Linked DNA regions of Homo sapiens: regions 1, 3, 4 and 5 are each linked to region 2. Evidence: promoter capture Hi-C in 16 types of primary human blood cells and fetal thymus (Javierre and others, 2016). All regions are on one chromosome and are shown on one strand. The core of a region is centred on a gene start or on the middle of the fragment in contact, and the rest is flanking DNA. Distances in the headings are between cores, read along the strand shown. Region 1 overlaps JAZF1 (JAZF zinc finger 1). Region 2 holds the start of EVX1 (even-skipped homeobox 1). Region 3 overlaps JAZF1 (JAZF zinc finger 1). Region 4 overlaps JAZF1 (JAZF zinc finger 1). Region 5 overlaps JAZF1 (JAZF zinc finger 1).

Region 1 (3,189 bases), core at 492-2,991, 720 kb before region 2:
ACAACTTGACTATAAAAATAAACATGTTCAGATCTTCTTTTAATACCTGTCACCAGTTTTACTTTCTTAGACTTTGAATATAGAATGGATGCATTTTGATTAGATGCCTGATTTTTTGTTTGCTTATTTGTGTTATAAATATCGGGGAATAAAGTATGTTGGGTGTACAATGACTGGAAAAAGTAAGAGCAACATTTTGGTGCTGTCAAGAGTTAAGATCTTTGCTTAGATTTTATGCTGAAGAACAGTATGTACATATTTTAACCTTTGTGTCTGATATATACTGAAATATGCAGTGTCAGTATCTATAAATGAAACCCTGTAGCTGTCGCAGCTGTCTTGACTTCTGAAAAACCTACAGCTCATTTCTAGTCATTCTCATGCTGATAATGTTAGAAAAAAGAAACACATGCGAACATACACTCTTCTCTGTCACAGATACCGCAATAAATTCCAGATCACAAGATATACTGGGAAAGGCATCTCTCTTGCTCTCTTTCTTTTTAAAATGACTTTTATTGAGATTAGTTTGACCATTTTAGCCAATATTTTAAGGACTAACAGATTCATGAGTTACCATTGTTGGCATCTGAGGTGACCCAACTAGCCTTTGGTAAGATTCATGACTACCAAAATATGTTGGTTCTTTTTTCCTTTGATTTCCTTGGTCATCTTCTGCTTGACTTCTTTTTAAAAACGTAATATACTGTGTCAGCCATTTTAAAAAAAAAAACTTTTTCTGATTATTAGGGAAATAGTAAAAAGTAAGCTTTGAAAATGGTTTTGGTGGTAGGGGTGGATCATTTATATTGTACCCATTCTTGTACAATATTTTAGGTTCAGTGGTTCAATTTTTTGAGTCCCATTCTAATTTTATAAGCATCTGTGGCAAGATTCTAATTGGGTCATACATTTAACTATTGTATCATGAGCATTCTCCATGTTGCTGCATCTTCAAAATTACTGTTTTAGTGGCCACATAATATTCCATAAGATAGAGTTCACCGAAACATGCCCTTCATTTCGTCATGATGGCTGCTTACAAGCTTTCATTATTATAAATTACACTGAAGCAAACATTTTTCATTGTTCCAAAAAAGATCCACCTAATGGATCTTTTTCCCTTTAGATCATTTTCATAGAACCTTTTCTCAGAAGTGGTTGGACTGGGGAAAAAGGATACAGATGTTACAATGCTATTTACCAGTGAGTTTCCAATTTTTGTAACAATTTTTGTGTGTTTTGGATGATAATATTCATTAAACATTTCCAAGGGAAAACTTAGTCTTTTTACTAAATCCCAAAACATGTTGGAGGAAGAGGGTATAATGGAAGCACTAGAGAAATTCACAATTGCCATCACTATATTATGGGTATATAGGTATATAAGCAACCAATTCAGATGTTGTCCTCATTCTTCATTGAAGAAATTGTGTTAAAAGAAAGTGCTGCTTACATCCAGCCCTTTAATCTTCAATCTACTTCAGTTTATTAAAAATGGAGCCATTGCCTGGCATGTTGGCTCATGCCTTAATCCCAGCACTTTGGGAGCCCAAGGTAGGAGAATTGCTTGATCCCAGGAGTTTGAAATCAGCCTGGGCAATGTAGCAAGACCTTGCCTCTACCAAAACAAAACAAAACAAAACAAAACCGGTGTGGTGACGTGCACCTACAGTCTCAGCTACTCGGGAGGCTGAGGTAGGAGGATCACTTGAGGCCAGGAGATCAAGGCTGCAGTGAACTGTGATTGCACCACTGCACTCCAGCCTAGATGACAGAGCAAGACCCTGTCTCCAAAAAAAAAGGGGGGGGGGGAATTGCAAACATTGATCCATTTGCTATCATTTGTGCAATTATTTGAATGTTTGTGACACATCACAACAATGTGCAAGACCCCAGGATTGACAGCTACCCCCAATTTACCATTATAACTTAATATGAGTAATCATAGGGAACAAGCATGGCAATTTTGAATTTGGAATGAAATAAAAGAGTAGTTTTTTTTCCTCATCCAAGCATTTGCTCTGATCCTCTTAACAGTTGGAAAGAGAGCTCCAAAGCTACATTGTTTCCAATTTAAAGTTAATTGAAATTTAACTGTGATATGGAGGAACATGATTATTACCATACTCCTAAAATTGTCCTTGACTTAAATAGAAAATGTTTGCAGAATGCTGTATGCCAAATTGTAACGTAGTATACATGAGAACATATTCCCCAGAAAATTCTGTATTATTATGTATTCCCCTTCATTCACAGAAAATCCATCCCAAAGAATTAAACTTTGCAGCACAATCTGAATTTGGAATTCAGATTCCCTAATAATGAAGGTTTGCCATGTTCAGCTTGCTGAGTTTATTAAACAGGTGAATGCTAACCCCACACAGTGAAGTTTTAAAAGGAGGGATAGTGGGTAGATCATTTCTGTTAAGCTTCAGAGCTTCAGTCTATTCATTTAACAAGGACAAAAAAGATTTGCAGTGTATTTCAGAAAGGCATATGTAGGATTATTCCACAGCAAGGGCCAAAGTTCAAATTCCCTAGAATATCAGGGGAAATTCTCCCCTCAGCATGTTACTGTTTTTAAAACAACTGCTTTTCTTGCTGATTAGACGTGATTTTAATTCCAGGACTAAATACAAAATGAAAGCAGCAGATAGGGAAGCCCTTGCATATCTTCTTGCTTTTACCCTAAGCCTGGCCATTAAAGGTAATTAATTTATGGGCTGGCAAAGCCTACTGCCTTTCCTCTATGGATTTGTTAGTTCTGCATTCAATATGGGATTCCAAATATAACTTGTATCCACCATTTATAAAATACAAGGACTGATCCCTTTGGCTTCTCTTGTCCCTCAGAGATTCCAGGATTAGCATGAAAGCTTTCTGTTTTTAGAAAAGCAAGTCTTGACTCTCTGTGGATTGGGGAAGACTGTGAATCACCCAGCCATGAGAGCCAGTTGGATAAACTTTTCATAAGTGATGCATATGAACTGTGAGGCTTGGCCTTCCTAACACTTAATGGGTATGGTTGTCAGGGTAATTTCCTGAATATTACTATGATCACTTTTACCCTTTTTTAACATAACATCAACAAAGGCACATCTACAATCAGAAAATGTTGAGGAAAATGATTTCATACTTCTTACCTATGTGTATTTCCTCTTGTGTACAGTTAGTCTTGTTTTTGGT
Region 2 (3,240 bases), core at 669-3,168:
GACAGGCACATGAGTTGAGATGCACCTTTGTGCTAGAGGGTTGTAAACTCTGGGTCAAGTGCATTGTAGTATGCTGGGCATTCAGAGAGTTTCCTTGCTCTTATGTGTGACGGGCTGCCAGAACAGGTGTGGGAATGTGTACTAGGTTCCGTGTATTGCAGGGCTGGAGTGAGAATGCATGTTGAGTATCTTATTTATTACCTTAGTATATGTGAGTGGAGTCCAGGTTGTTCTGAGGGTTATGGGAAGGAGGCTGGGTGAAATCGGTGATAAGATAGTAAGGGGTAGGTGCAGGTATTCAACAAGGCGTTGGCTGCCAAGACCAGGGGGTGGTCTTTCTCCCCCCCGCCCCCAGGCTCTTTCCACCCACTCCTACAGTTCTGTGGAGGAGTGTCTGCTGGTGGGCTCCCCTCTCCTCCCCCCCACCAACCCGCGCCCAGTTTTCTACCCCCTTCTGGGGAGGTGATTGTTGGCACAGAGGGAAACTCCCTTCCGGGCTATCCACCCCTTTCCCATTAGCCTTTGGTGGGGAGGGGTTCTCCAGTTAAACCAGCCCCCCTTTGGGCCTACCTCTGAGAAGGGTGGGGCTCCAGCCCCCTGCAGCTCCTTTTCCTTTGGGTGGAGAAGTGGGACTAGGAAGGAAAGGGGAAGGGGGGAGGACCCGATCTCTGCCTTTTCAAATGCAACCGGAGACCAAAGGCAATTAGACCATTGGGACCATTTCCGACCTGGCGCCGCGAAGCCCGGGAAGTGACAAGGTAATTTGGACCTCTGACCGACGTGCAAACTGGTCGGAGGGCTGCAGCACCCGGGCTGCCCAAGTGGGCCGCAATTTTACGGTCCTTTATGGACTCCTGGCTTCCGCGCCTCCATGCCTCTTACACCCTGCCAGCCACAAACTGCCCGGATCGGCGTTTGATCTTGCCCTCGCCTGGGGAAAGTGTCTTCCCCGAGCAATTGAAGCATTCCCCGAGCAGTTGAAACACTGGGTGCTTGGGGTGAGCTTCGAATCCCCCAAGTCCAGGACTTGCATCCGCCCCCTCAGCACCCCGCACTCAAGGCACTGCTGTCACCCTCAGTCCCGCCAATGCCAGAACACAGTAGGAGACCCCCGCCAGAACGCAGATAGCAGAGAGAGTTGCTCAGGTGGGTCCCCCCAGCCATCCTGCCCTAGGGGAAGGGAGTGTCTTCCTCCTGGCCTGCGCCGAAGTGAAGGGTGGGCGCAGTGGGAGGCCCGGGGAGCGGAGGGGCACGGTGGCTACCTTTGCTGTGCTGGTACTCGGCGTTCCCGGTGGCGCAGTCCGGGGTGCAGCTCACCTCGATTTCTTCATAGAAATCCGACTCGGTGTCCGAGCTACTGGGTTGCCCCTGTCCGGAGAGGCTGTCGACTGAGGGGGCCGGGGGTCCTGGGCCGAGCATGGCCGCCCCAGCTACCTGGGGCTCGGCGCCCGGCCCCGCCGCGCTGCCTGCGAGTCCATCTACCGGCTCCTCCTCCGGGCCTCCCCCGCCGCGCTCCCGGGTGGCCGGAGGGACGGCCCGAGGGCTCAGGCAACCACGGGGCACCATTTTCTCGGGCGGCTCCGGCAGCGGGCTGCCCACGGCTTCGGACAAATTTGAGACTCTCTTGCCAACCAGAGTGCCAAGCTGACCCCCATCCAGAAACACAACCATGTCCTTTCGGCTCTCCATCCCGGGGCTCTCCGGTGGGGGAGGGGAAAGCCCCAAGTGAGTTCCTAACCCCGGCTCCCTGGGTCTCCAGCGGCCGGACGGATCTTGGTTGCAAGAGGGAGAAAGAAAGGCCGGGTGCCTGGGAGGGCGCGGAGCTGCTGGAGCGCGGTCTGGACCGCGACCGCGGCGGTGGCGGTGGGAGCTAGGGTCACCTTGTGAAGCGAGCGCTCCTCTGTGCCGCACCGCCTCTGGGAGGAAGCCCCATTGCCCTCTTCTTTCTAAGCTGTCATCCTCCTGCTGCAATCGTCATTACAGTACCGCTGGTGACGCCACTCGGCGAGCGCAAGTGGATAAATAGAAACGTCTGCCACAGCGAAGATGAAAGGAAACCCGCAGCTAATGGCTCGGCAGTGATGCGCCAGGTGTGGGCCTCGCTCGATTGGGGAGGAGAGTGTGAAAACAGACAGAGAGACACACACACTGAGAGAGGGAGACACCCAGGCAGAGGGGATGCAAATGGAATTCCGCAGAAAGAAAAGAGAGCTTAACGCGCGCGGCGAGTTCCGCAGGGGCAGCGGGACTCGGTAATTAAATAAGCTTTTGATTTTTTCTTTTATTGTTGTTTTGACTTTTGTTTTCTTAACTTGGTGCCTTGATCTAACACCGATGAAAGAATCCATAACTGCATTTTAGAAGTGTGAAGCCCGGCTTACAAGCCTCAATTCTGTCGGCATTATTACAACTGTCTGCCCCTGGCAGCTAACCTCAAACTGGCTGAAAAGTCTTTTTACAAGCTACGGAAAAATGTATTCCCCCGCCCCAAGTTGACTGGAGAGCTTGAGGCTGGGCCATCTTTTCCTCTTTTCTCCTCCCTCTCCCTACCCACCTCTGTCTCCTTACTCCTGCGAACCAAACTTTGCTATTTTTCTTCCCTAAGGGGCAAGAAATAAATACCTTATTATTATTTTTTAATTTAAAGACCCGCCTTGGCTTCTGTAAGAGTGTGTGCTGATTTCTTTTAAATACCTCCTTCCCATCTAGATGGCCTTAAGTTTTCCACAGCCTGGCTTCATCTTGAGATGGCTATTCGTACAAGAAGTCGCTTTCCCGTTTGCCTGGACCTCGCCTGCACTCCAGGTATGTTGGGTGGGGAGAGTTTCTAAGAGTTGTCTTTTTTTTTCCCTTGCCCATATTTTAAAGTATTCGTTCAGAATCAGCGAAGTCTCCTGGAAAGAGGTTTTTCGAATGAAGAGGCGCCAGGAATGCGGCCCCTGCTGTGGCAGTACTGGAGGCCCCTACTTGGGAGAAGGCAGTAGCTTTCACCGCGCTATTTTGGGCAGGGGTTCAGCCTCCCCGAGTACAAAAAGGTTGGGGTTCATAGAGGTTTGACTCATAAGGTCCTCTCCCAAGTCCCTGCCTAGGGGCAGTGGTACCTGTCTCCAAAAGTGGATGGCGTTTGAGGTAGAAGAGAGTGAAGTCGCTGAAAATGCCCTAAAACAGCAAGTAAGTAGGGACTCTGATGAAGGGCTGGAGGTGGGGGCAGGGGTTGTGGAACTTAATATCTGGAAGCTG
Region 3 (3,373 bases), core at 857-3,356, 780 kb before region 2:
GGCTAGAGTAACCCCAGCTCCGCCCTAGCTCTCATGAACCTGTAAGCTGGTCTAGAATTTAGGGTTTCAGAAACCTGGCCAAAAATTTTTCCATCTCACATCAGTCCAACATCTGCTGCTGCAAGGGCCATATTGACAAGACTAAATACACCACTGAACCATAAATGAAGGTTTAAGAGTTGAGGATATAATTTCAAAGTCGGATTTTAAACCCCTGATTGGTTTCTTGACCAATCTTCTGTAGCAAACACGTTAACTGCCAACTTGAGAAAGATAGTATGTTTTTAAATGACGTATTTTACTTCTGAAAAATTAAATAACATAGTAGAATGAGGCTGGCCTTGGAGTCAGAACTGGGTTTGAAGACTGCTTATGCTCTTATTTAGCCATGTGGACCAAAGCAAGTCTATTTACCTTTTCCCGTGTTTTCATGTTTTGTGAGGACAAGCACATCTTTTTCTCATGGTGGTGGTTGTAAGGATTTAGATACGATGTTGCTGTATGGAGAACGTATTACCTACACTGAAAATTTTAGTTTAATTTCTCTTTCTTACTCATAGCTTTGAAGAAAGTAGAATAAAGGGTTGACTGGGTTGTTGTTAAGTATGAGGACAAATGTTCTTTAACACTATCATTGGTAAGTGGCATTTCTCCAGCAGGGAGGTGACAAAGTAGCTAAACCCCAAGAGGGGAAGAGTGTGACTAAGCCAGTAACAGCCCTGGACACTCAACGGACATTGTTGCTGGGTCACCAGGTTAGGATTGGGGATTATAGAAAGGTGTTAGGGAACAGAACCATTGTCCTGAGTTTGTCAGACCCAGAGAAGAGCTTGGGCTGTAGCTGTGGTCACTGTTTCCCTGTGGTCAGGGCTTTCTCTTCCTGCAAGAAGCTTGGCTGTCTTTCAAAGAAGGAACCTCAGTCTATGATTCTGCTGGTCATGGTGCTTTAGAAAGTAGTTGGTCTATGGAATCCTTGTCAAGCAATACAGAGAGCACCCAGTGTCCCAATATGCTTGTTGCCCCTGGTAGATTATAAACTCCTTGAAGGAAAAGGTTCTGTCTGCGTTTCATGATCTCTCAAGTTGCAGGCTCAGGGCATGGCATGTCAGATGACAGAAAGTGAGCCCTTTAATCTCTCTGGGAAGCTTAATAAAGATTTTATCATCACTTCCTATCTTCCAAAGCATTCTCTACACTGCATCATTGGTATTTTGCCAGAGATGCAAAATTCATCATGTCCCTCTTCCATTCAGGGTCCTTTGGCTACTTATTGTTTATCACCAACTAGTGTTCTCATACCTGTTTCCTCATCTTCAAAATGATGATAATTATGGGAGGATTGTTTTGAGGTCTAAATGAGTATGTGTGTATACACACATGCCCACACCTGGTTATGTATGTGCATACCTCTAGCTCACCAAAATCCTCCTTTCTCCACCCTTGGACCCAGCCATTCTGAATATCTTTTTTCCACTCTTTCACCATGTTTTTTTCTCTCCCTTAGAACTTTTAATATGCTGTTCTCTCTTCTTAAACATCTCTCTCTCTCTCTTTGTTTTTCTTTTTGTGACAGAGTCTTGTTCTATCACCCAAACTGGAATGTGGTGGCGTGATTACATCTCACTGCAGCCTCAACCTCGTGGGCTTAAGCAGTCCTTCCGCCGCAACCTCCTGAGTAGCTGGGACTACAGGTGGTGCCACCATATTCATTTTTAAATTTTTTATTTTATTTTTTTTTTTTAGAGATGGGTCTTGCTATGCTGCCCAGGTTGGTCTTGAAGTCCTGACCTCAAGCAATCCTCCCACCTTGGCCTCCCAAAGTGCTAGCATGTCAGGCATGAGCCACTGTGCCTAGCCCTAGATATTTCTTTTACTGCCGCTCCTGACTTTCTGCTCTTCTTCCTTAAACTTAAATGTTATCTATTCTAAGAAGCTTTCCTAATTTTCCAAGTGTAGGTTAATATAGTGTTTTTTCTAGGTGCTCATTTCTTAATGAAGCATTTATATCTATAGCATCTATAAGTCCTTAAGGTAGCTTAATTTACCAAGCATTTATTACATTGGGCTGTCATTGTCTGTCTACCTGTCAGCCTCTCTCTTACTAAAACTGTCCACTCCATGAGGGCAGGAACCTGTCCGTATGGTTCACTTTGCCTTAGCGCCTAGCCCAGTGCTGGACTCATTAACACGCATTCTAAAATACTTAACAGTATTTCCTGAATGGATGAGTGGATGAATACAGGTTAAGCAGGAAGGTCTGTCCTAGGAATTAAGCTTGGTTGTTAAGTGGTTCCAAGTTTCAATATCATGTGTGGAGTAGATTCTTGCTAATTCTTGTATTATGTGTTATTTAGACACCAGGAATCTGGAATTTCAGAATTCACTTCTAATTCTTCAGATAACCTTTTTTATTTTCTCTTAAAACCTTAGTTTTCCTCATGAATGCAAACATAATTGGAAAATCGTTTCGAATTACTTACATCCTCATTTATGATATTTGAAAAACAGCTTTTGTGGGAGCTCAGCTTTGTCCATAAGAGCAAAGGCTTAGCAAGGGAAATTACTTCAGTGAATCTGTCCTTCGGTATATTGGAGAAAGGGAGGTAAATTAGTCATTATCACTTCAAAATTTTCTATAGAACTACAATGCTTCACGGCTGGACTCGTTTCTGTCTTCCTTCATGGAGTCCTTGCAAGGCCATTCTAGGCCATGGTAATCTCATCTAGGTGTGAACCTCACAGACGTTGTTTGTACTACCCCTGTCTTAAGTCATTCTTGTATACCATCATTATTGTATACCATTATTTGTTTTTCCTGTGTGTTTGTCTTGTATCCTCACGAAGCACCGACCTCTAGAGAATAAAGACTTCACCTCACATCTCTTTCAATACTGCCTGACATCCAGCACAGCTTTATGTAATTTGGTAATTTTTTACAAAGTGAAATATGGTGGCACGTGCCTGTAATCCCAGCTACTCGGGAGGCTGAGACACGAGAATCACTTGAACCTGGGCAGCGGAGGTTGCAGTGAGCCAAGATCATGCCGTTGCACTCCAGCCTGGACAACAGAGACTCCATCTCAAAACAAACAAACAACAACAAAAACAACAACAACAGTGAAATATTAAAGAAAATCTTCAGGTATAATAAGTGAAAAGATAAGACTGACTCCATTTTAAAAATATATATGCAAAGAAGACTAAGAGAATAGTAAAGGATATAGTAAAATGCACAGCCTGAACTATGTTTGGATAGTTGATTATGGGTAACTTGTTTTTTATAATTTTCTAGATTTTCCACTTTTTCTGTAGTCATCTGTTATTTTTGATCAACAAAAAAGTATAAATGTTATTATTTTTTAAAGGAAGAGAT
Region 4 (3,448 bases), core at 159-2,658, 800 kb before region 2:
TCTCCAGGTAAACAATAGTTATTTGTGTTGTGAACCACCCCTAGAAAGCCTTTTGCTCTTACGTTCTCCAAATACTCTCTCTGATTACACACATTTTAATTTTTAAAAAATTTTGCCACATATATCTAGGGCACCCATTTATATGCATTTCTGAAAGAATTTGTGTCTTTGAGAGCACACTGTGTTATCTATGTAATAGAAATAATCTCTGTGGTTTCTAGATGGGTCTTCTTCCTTTCCTTAATAGAACATTAAGGAACATAGTGTCTGCTATGTTGAATTTGGGGCATATTAAATTAAATATTAGCCGATTAAATGGAATATCTAAAGTGATTCTTGGGATAAAGCTTGTTAGAGAATTGTGGTCTTCTACCTTACGTCGCTGCAGTCACTGGCATCCATCTCTGAATTCCATTCCCAATTCCTCTCTTAACTCTGGGCGATCATGGAATTGCTGTACATTAGTGTTTTATCATACCATTCTTTTAAGTGGGTATCTAAAACTCCATATGTCCAAAATACAACTCTTGATCCCACCAAACACACTTCTACACCCCGACACCCTCATCTGCCGGGTGGCCTAGACTCTATGGCTGCCTTCCTCCTCCTCACACCTGTCTGGCTCATTCCCACCTCCCCACTGTGGCACCGTGTATCCCTCTCTCTGAGATGTTTACCCCCAGACTTTGTGTAGCCAACTGCTGATCATTTAGGACTTGACATAAGTTCTTCCTCTTCACAGAGGCCTTACCAGTCACTCTTGATTACATTACTCTTTAATTTTCTTTATAGTACTCATCTCTCTTCGATATTTTCTTACATATTTGTTGTTTGTTATTTTCCCATCTAGATTGTAAACTGCACAAGAACAGGACCTTGCTTGCCCCACTTGGAGCAGTATCTGCCTGGCACATAGTTGGCACTCAACAGATTCTTAAAGGAGTGGGTGAATGAATGAATAAAAAAATGAAACTGGCTTTAGATTTTTTTTATGTGTTTAAAGGGCTCAAACATTATGTAAAATTGAAGACTTCTGACAGTTTAATTCATTTTTAATAAACGTAAGGTTTTTCTTTCATGTGTAAAGAATACCCTTTAATAATACTTTAGGTTTGCATTATCTGGACTCTCAGCATTTTTTAATGTGTAGGAGTCTTCAGTTTGAGGACTTTCTGAAAGGCTAACTTTAATAACATCAGACCTGCCATTTCCACAGGGCTTAGAATAAATTCCAAAATGCCAGAGAAAATTAAATGCAAAAAAGCTCCAGTTAATTAATGTTTCAGAATAAATTAATGCTTTAGGCCTGACTTTAACTGACAAGTATAGTGAATTTCAAAGTTAAAACTGCCACCCTTTCCCCACGTCTGTATTTTGTGCTGTATTCAGTCATTCCAGTTATTTATATCCTTGGGGCGGGGGGAAGGAGACATATACACGTTGAATTTTAAATTAAAGTAAGAAACACAATTACACTGATTATTCTTAGGGGAAAGGGTTTTAGCATTCCTCATAACTCTCTTTAGTTATGCGATAATTCCAAAATTTTCAGAGTTGAGAATGGGTCCTAAATATCTTTACTTGTCCCCAAGATGCTGTAACATACTGAAAAGAAAGGAAGCTAACATTTATGTGTGTAGTGTGTTCCAGGGACTATCTTAGCTTCATATATCTCAGTAAGTCAGTTATAATATTGGTATTTGCATGGGGCAGGGGAGGCACATTTTCATCTTGTCTGATTAATTTCTTACTTATTCTTGGATCTTAGACCATAGAAAAGAATTGGCAAAAACATGTTACACTTCTTTCTGACTTTTTCTTCTTCCTTGTCTTCCCTCTGTCACTTCCTGAACCTCAGTTTCCCCGGTTGCAAGATAAATACATCTATCTCATAAGACTGAAATAATAAGGGGTGTGTGTGTGTGTTTGTATGCACGTGCGCATGTGCGTGTGTTCCCAATATGGTAGCTAATACCAAAGCATTTTTTAAAACATTAGAATGTTCTTGGAGGAGCCCTGCACCAAGGAGGGCTAAGTAAGTCTCCAAGGTCTCTTTAAACCTTAAGATGCTATGAGCTTACGTTCCATATGCAGAGCAATCATGAATCTTTTTAAATTTAGCATGCTTTGCCTCTAATTTGCCACTCTTTATTAATTTGTTAACACAAATATTTTAGTATGCAGGTCTAATCAATGTGCTAAGCATTAAAGTTGTAGAGATAAAAGATAATACCTGCTTACATTCTGCTTTGTTCCACAAAAGAATTTGAGGTAGAGATAAAAGGAACAGTTCATACCTCATCATGAGCATGGTTTTTTGTACAATACTTTATACCAAGCATGGACAGTGAAGCTGAATATGTACTAAACTACCGATATGTTCAGCAAATCTTTTGCTTTAAATAAATTTGTATCTTTTTTGTAGTTTCCTACTTTCTTATAAAAGTCATATGGAAAGGAAAAGCTTCAGCTCATCTGGAATTCTGTTTGGTTGGGTTTTGACTTTCAGTTAATCAAGGATTTGCTGGAGTTATGGGGTGTGTGCATGCTTCTTTTTTTGGAATTTTAGTTATGTGATATTTGCAAGTAATTCTTGGGAACAAGAGTTTCAAACCTGAATGTTCACAAGAAATAACAATATTATAAAAAGCAGATGTTAAACAGTTTTGTTTAAATAAAAAGGAAGATTATCTCTAATATTTGTAAATGCTTGAAAGAAAACAACAAATTCCGTAGTAGAATTTTTATCTTGTCTTCCTTTCTTTAGTTCAGTTATGTAAACAAAATTATATGAATCATGTACTTAACAAGTTCAAGTCTACTTTGGATTTATAGTGTCAGAATCATAAAACCCTGAAAAATGAGCTTATATCTACTAGTTATGCTAATACAAGCACAGTGAGAAGCTATTTGCCACAATCATTCCCCCATCCCAAAGTTTATAGGCTGTATGTTTTCTTTCACCTGAATTACTCTAATATAATATGTTAATGTTTCATTTACCTTGCCAAAAATAGGTTACCCACTTCATGGAAATTCCCATTCTCCTCTGTTCTTTGTATTGTGTTGCATTAGCCCATTGGTTCTGGTATTTTCTTCCTTTGTTTGGTACCATTTGTAAGAATTATCAACTGAGTTTCATGCATTCTCTGCTGGAAGAAAAAAAGCTTTTTATTTTTCCTATTTGAAATTGTGATGTTGGCAATGAAAATTCCAAAATCTCTCTGCCCATTTCTAGTAAAGCAATTTATGCATACATGTGACTAGAGTAGAGAAAAGTGAGTTTGACGTAGAAATTATGAGGAGACATATTACCTGGAGACATCTGTGATAATTCATGCTGTCCAAAAATGGCATGAACCAACTCAGCGAAAGATTCCTTGTTGCTGGGGGTGTCCTGGGTGTCTGGAATTCATTAATAAGATTTGAATAAGGAACCTTTCCATCC
Region 5 (3,307 bases), core at 265-2,764, 850 kb before region 2:
GTTAAAGCAGATTGCTGTGTGGCTGCTGGGAGTCATGGCATTTCCAAGATTTACCTCTTTCCTGTCACCCTCCCATTTCTACATGCAAAATGACCTCCCAGACTCTAGCAGGCCTGTGGCTGCCACCTTTCTTTTTAGCTCCCCGAACCTTCCCCTTCATTCAGCTACCTGAAATCCCACCTCCTCCCAAAGGACTTGCTGACTGATTCGTAGACAGCTGTGATTTCTTCTTGCCCCACCCTTTATATATCCAGCTCCTTCAGCTCTCCCATTTCTTGCTTCAGAACACAATGTAGGTCCATTCACTTAAGTTAATGTACCTGTGTTGTTCTATTGTATCAATGTGTGTGACTTCATCTATTTTAGGAAACAAGCTCTGAGGCAGGAATTTGGCTTAACTAATTTATACAGGGCTTAGTAAAAGGCTCTGTGGAATTAGAGACACCTAATAAATGCTTCAGACTTTTGAATTGATGCTGTAATCATTTTAATGGAGGCTGATGTTGTATGTGTTTAAACAAATGGCATGTTTTCCAGCAACATTCTGGCAAATTAGCAGCATCTAAATTTAAAAAAAAAGTCTGTACTTAGAAAATGAATTTTGTAAACTGTGGTAACATGCAGTTATTTATTGCTGAGCTGATTTAAGCAGAGGCCCAAATGCAGTGGTGGGAGCCAAGATTTCATTTTTTGCAATATTTGTTTTCTGAAAAGTTGGTTAGTGTGGCAGAGGTTGGGTGGGAAAGTGGGGGTGGGGGGTGATTTAAAGGCATTATTGTTAACTTAATGCATATTTTAAAGAGTTAGTTAAAAACCCTTTATATTAGGTTAGCAGGTGTGATTTGGCACCATTTCTTTCTACACATGTGCCCTTTTCATTAGGAATGTGTGCCTGATGTGGTGCAGATGGCATTTAAGCCACTTGGTAATATTTTCCACAACCTGTTCTTAGTAATTAGGCTTGAATTTGCTGTTTCAAAATACTGAACGTCTTTTGGCAACTTTGTAAAAACGAAGGAACTTGAAATGTGGTCAGTATACCAGCAGAGGGCAGTGTAAGCCAGTGTTTCATTTGCAGTCAGCTTCCCACGGCCATGGCTGCTTTTCCACACCCCAGAGCTAGAATGTTCCCATTACTTTATTTGAGATATAGATGCAATTTGAGAATTAAAAAAAAAATTGCAAATGAAAAAGTTAAAAAATAGTCTCTTATTGGCCATCTTGTAGTAAGAAGATAAATTGTTCAGAACAGATTTGAGCTGCAGTTCTGTTTTATGAATTTTTCCTTGAATCGTCTATCAACATGCATGAATGATTATGTGAAAAGTGTAGTTCTTATGTAAATCATTTTGCTAATGCACTTAAAAGACAAAATATTTAATTTGATTATAGATGTTTTTCCTTGCTCAATAGTGGATAGTAAGATTTTCATTATGTCTGTAAGGGTTTCAGTTATTTTTATGACAAGGGAAAGGTCATTTCCGACATATATGGTCCAGTCAAGTTAACCTTCAGAGAATTAACAGCAAAGGACTGCTTCTTGTCATAGCTTATTGTGCTTTATAACCAAAAGTGTTGCCTTTTACTCATAGTTTTTTCCTCACCACAGAACTTCTCGGACAACCCTAACCACTGGCCCTCTTGTTCCCTTCATTCTTGTTTTCTCCAACTCCAAGAGCGGACAGAGGCCCTGCCTCCCACTTCTCTCTTCAGTGGCCTCCCTCTCAGTTCTGCTTATCCCTCTCCCTTTTAGTGTCTTCTGTCTCACGCCATCCTTGATGCTATGGAATGTTTGTGCCCCCCCCAAATTTCATATGTTGAAGCCCTAACCCCCAGGATATTTGGAGATGGAGCCTTTGAGGGGATGATGAAGGTTAAATGAGTCATACGGTTGGGGCCCAGTAAAGGCTAGTGCTAGTATAAGAAGAGGAGGAGCACCAGAGCTCTCCGTCTCAGCCGTGTGAGGACACAGCAAGAGGGCCAGCCTATGAGCCAGGAAGCAAGGCCTCAGCAGAACAGTCCTGATGGTGCCTTGATCTGGGACTTCTGCCCTCCAGAATTGCTTCTGTTGTTCAGGCCACTCTGGCTGTGGTATTCTGTTATGGCAGCCTAAGCTGACTGATGCCCTCTTAGGATCTCACAGGGATTTGACGTTCAGCGGAGGGGACCATGATTACCTGTTGGAAGGCAGCAGAGGCTCTGCTAGAAGGACAGGTGGACTGAAGATGAGCAGAAAGCCAGAGAACTCCTTGAGGTAGGGACTTGATATGGTTAGGGTTTGTGTACCCACCCAAATCTCATCTTGAATTATACTCCCCATAATCCCCACGTGTCAAAGGAGAGACCAGCTGTAGGTAATTGAATCATGGGGGTGGTTTCCCCCATGCTGTTCTCATGATAGTGAGTTAGTTCTCACAAGATCTGATGGCTTTGTAAGGGGCTCCTCCCCCTTCACTTGGCACTTCTCCTTCCTCCCTGCTTGTGAAGATCATGTTTTGCTTCCCCTTCACCATCCGCCATGATCGTAAGTTTCCTGAGGCCTCCCCGATAATGCTGAACTGTGAGACAATTAAACCTCTTTCCTTTATAAATAACCCAGTCTTGGGCAGTTCTTCATAGCAGTATAAAAATGGACTAATACAGGGCTTGCCTAGGAGGCCCAACAGAGTGAACAAATATGTAGAATGATTGTGGTGCTCTTGATGGAGAATGAAGAGAGGGACTGGGATGAAACTGAAGACTTGTGGGAATAAGATGGGAGAGGTTGCGTGGAGCCTTGAAAGTGGTTTGGCTTTGGTGCTGTGGGAGCTTCTCAGATTCGGAGATGGCACACCCTTGGGGTACATGTGGGTATCAGGTAAGCCAAAGCATAGAGACTGTGCCCTTCTCTGGGGTGCCAGTTTTTCTGGATGGAGCTTCTTTCTTGTTGGGACTCCACATGTATTTCTGTGTGTTTCCTCCTTGTCGTCTTACTAAGGGAGCTTTGGTAGGACGATTGAGGGCAGTGGAGGAAAGAGGGCATTGTTAAAACATCATGAGCAGGCGCAGCTCGGCCCTTGGTCCCCTCTGGCCACAGGGTGGGGCTGAGCTGGCAAAAAAAATAAAAAATAATAATTTTTAAAAAGCACCATAAGCAAAACATGAATAAGTGGAGGTGAAGCAGGTGTTCTTGCCTGGAAGGAGAAGCTTCGGGTCTGCTTGCCCATGTTCCTTCTGCCAGAAAATTTCAAGTGCTGGGTGCCTACTGGGTTCCTTCTTCCCCCATGGCATTCCTGTAAGATAAATGGCTGCTTTTCAGCAGATGACA

What was found. Contacts are between HindIII fragments. The CHiCAGO score rates a contact against its expected background, and 5 or more counts as called.
Region 1: a contact is called between a fragment that was not itself captured here and the fragment with the promoter of EVX1 in region 2, in 1 of 17 cell types (megakaryocytes). The highest score is 5.1, in megakaryocytes.
Region 3: a contact is called between a fragment that was not itself captured here and the fragment with the promoter of EVX1 in region 2, in 2 of 17 cell types (fetal thymus and megakaryocytes). The highest score is 6.3, in fetal thymus.
Region 4: a contact is called between a fragment that was not itself captured here and the fragment with the promoter of EVX1 in region 2, in 1 of 17 cell types (fetal thymus). The highest score is 5.2, in fetal thymus.
Region 5: a contact is called between a fragment that was not itself captured here and the fragment with the promoter of EVX1 in region 2, in 1 of 17 cell types (naive CD4 T cells). The highest score is 5.1, in naive CD4 T cells.

Annotation. Positions count from the first base shown.
Region 1 is chr7:27,962,185-27,965,373 of GRCh38, reverse strand. The region is part of intron 2 of JAZF1 (JAZF zinc finger 1); the gene reads left to right. Among named protein-coding and RNA genes, the nearest start is that of JAZF1-AS1, 220 kb to the left of the region's middle. The HindIII fragment of the contact is 1,386 bases long and covers 1,049-2,434 here.
Region 2 is chr7:27,241,480-27,244,719 of GRCh38, reverse strand. It overlaps EVX1 (even-skipped homeobox 1), which reads right to left and starts at 1,918. Exons shown (of 3, transcript NM_001989.5): 1 at 1,263-1,918. The coding sequence starts at 1,689. It overlaps EVX1-AS (EVX1 antisense RNA), which reads left to right. Exons shown (of 4, transcript NR_120507.1): 2 at 2,710-2,805; 3 at 3,079-3,171. RefSeq lists an enhancer at 1,423-2,300. The HindIII fragment of the contact is 5,233 bases long and covers 1-2,267 here.
Region 3 is chr7:28,022,488-28,025,860 of GRCh38, reverse strand. The region is part of intron 1 of JAZF1 (JAZF zinc finger 1); the gene reads left to right. Among named protein-coding and RNA genes, the nearest start is that of JAZF1-AS1, 160 kb to the left of the region's middle. The HindIII fragment of the contact is 341 bases long and covers 1,936-2,276 here.
Region 4 is chr7:28,037,753-28,041,200 of GRCh38, reverse strand. All of the region lies in intron 1 of JAZF1 (JAZF zinc finger 1), which reads left to right. It overlaps LOC105375208 (a long non-coding RNA gene), which reads right to left. Exons shown (of 4, transcript XR_001744910.3): 1 at 3,316-3,448; 2 at 3,004-3,152. Among named protein-coding and RNA genes, the nearest start is that of JAZF1-AS1, 140 kb to the left of the region's middle. RefSeq lists an enhancer at 3,100-3,448. The HindIII fragment of the contact is 2,117 bases long and covers 350-2,466 here.
Region 5 is chr7:28,094,566-28,097,872 of GRCh38, reverse strand. The region is part of intron 1 of JAZF1 (JAZF zinc finger 1); the gene reads left to right. Among named protein-coding and RNA genes, the nearest start is that of JAZF1-AS1, 84 kb to the left of the region's middle. The HindIII fragment of the contact is 3,348 bases long and covers 1-3,188 here.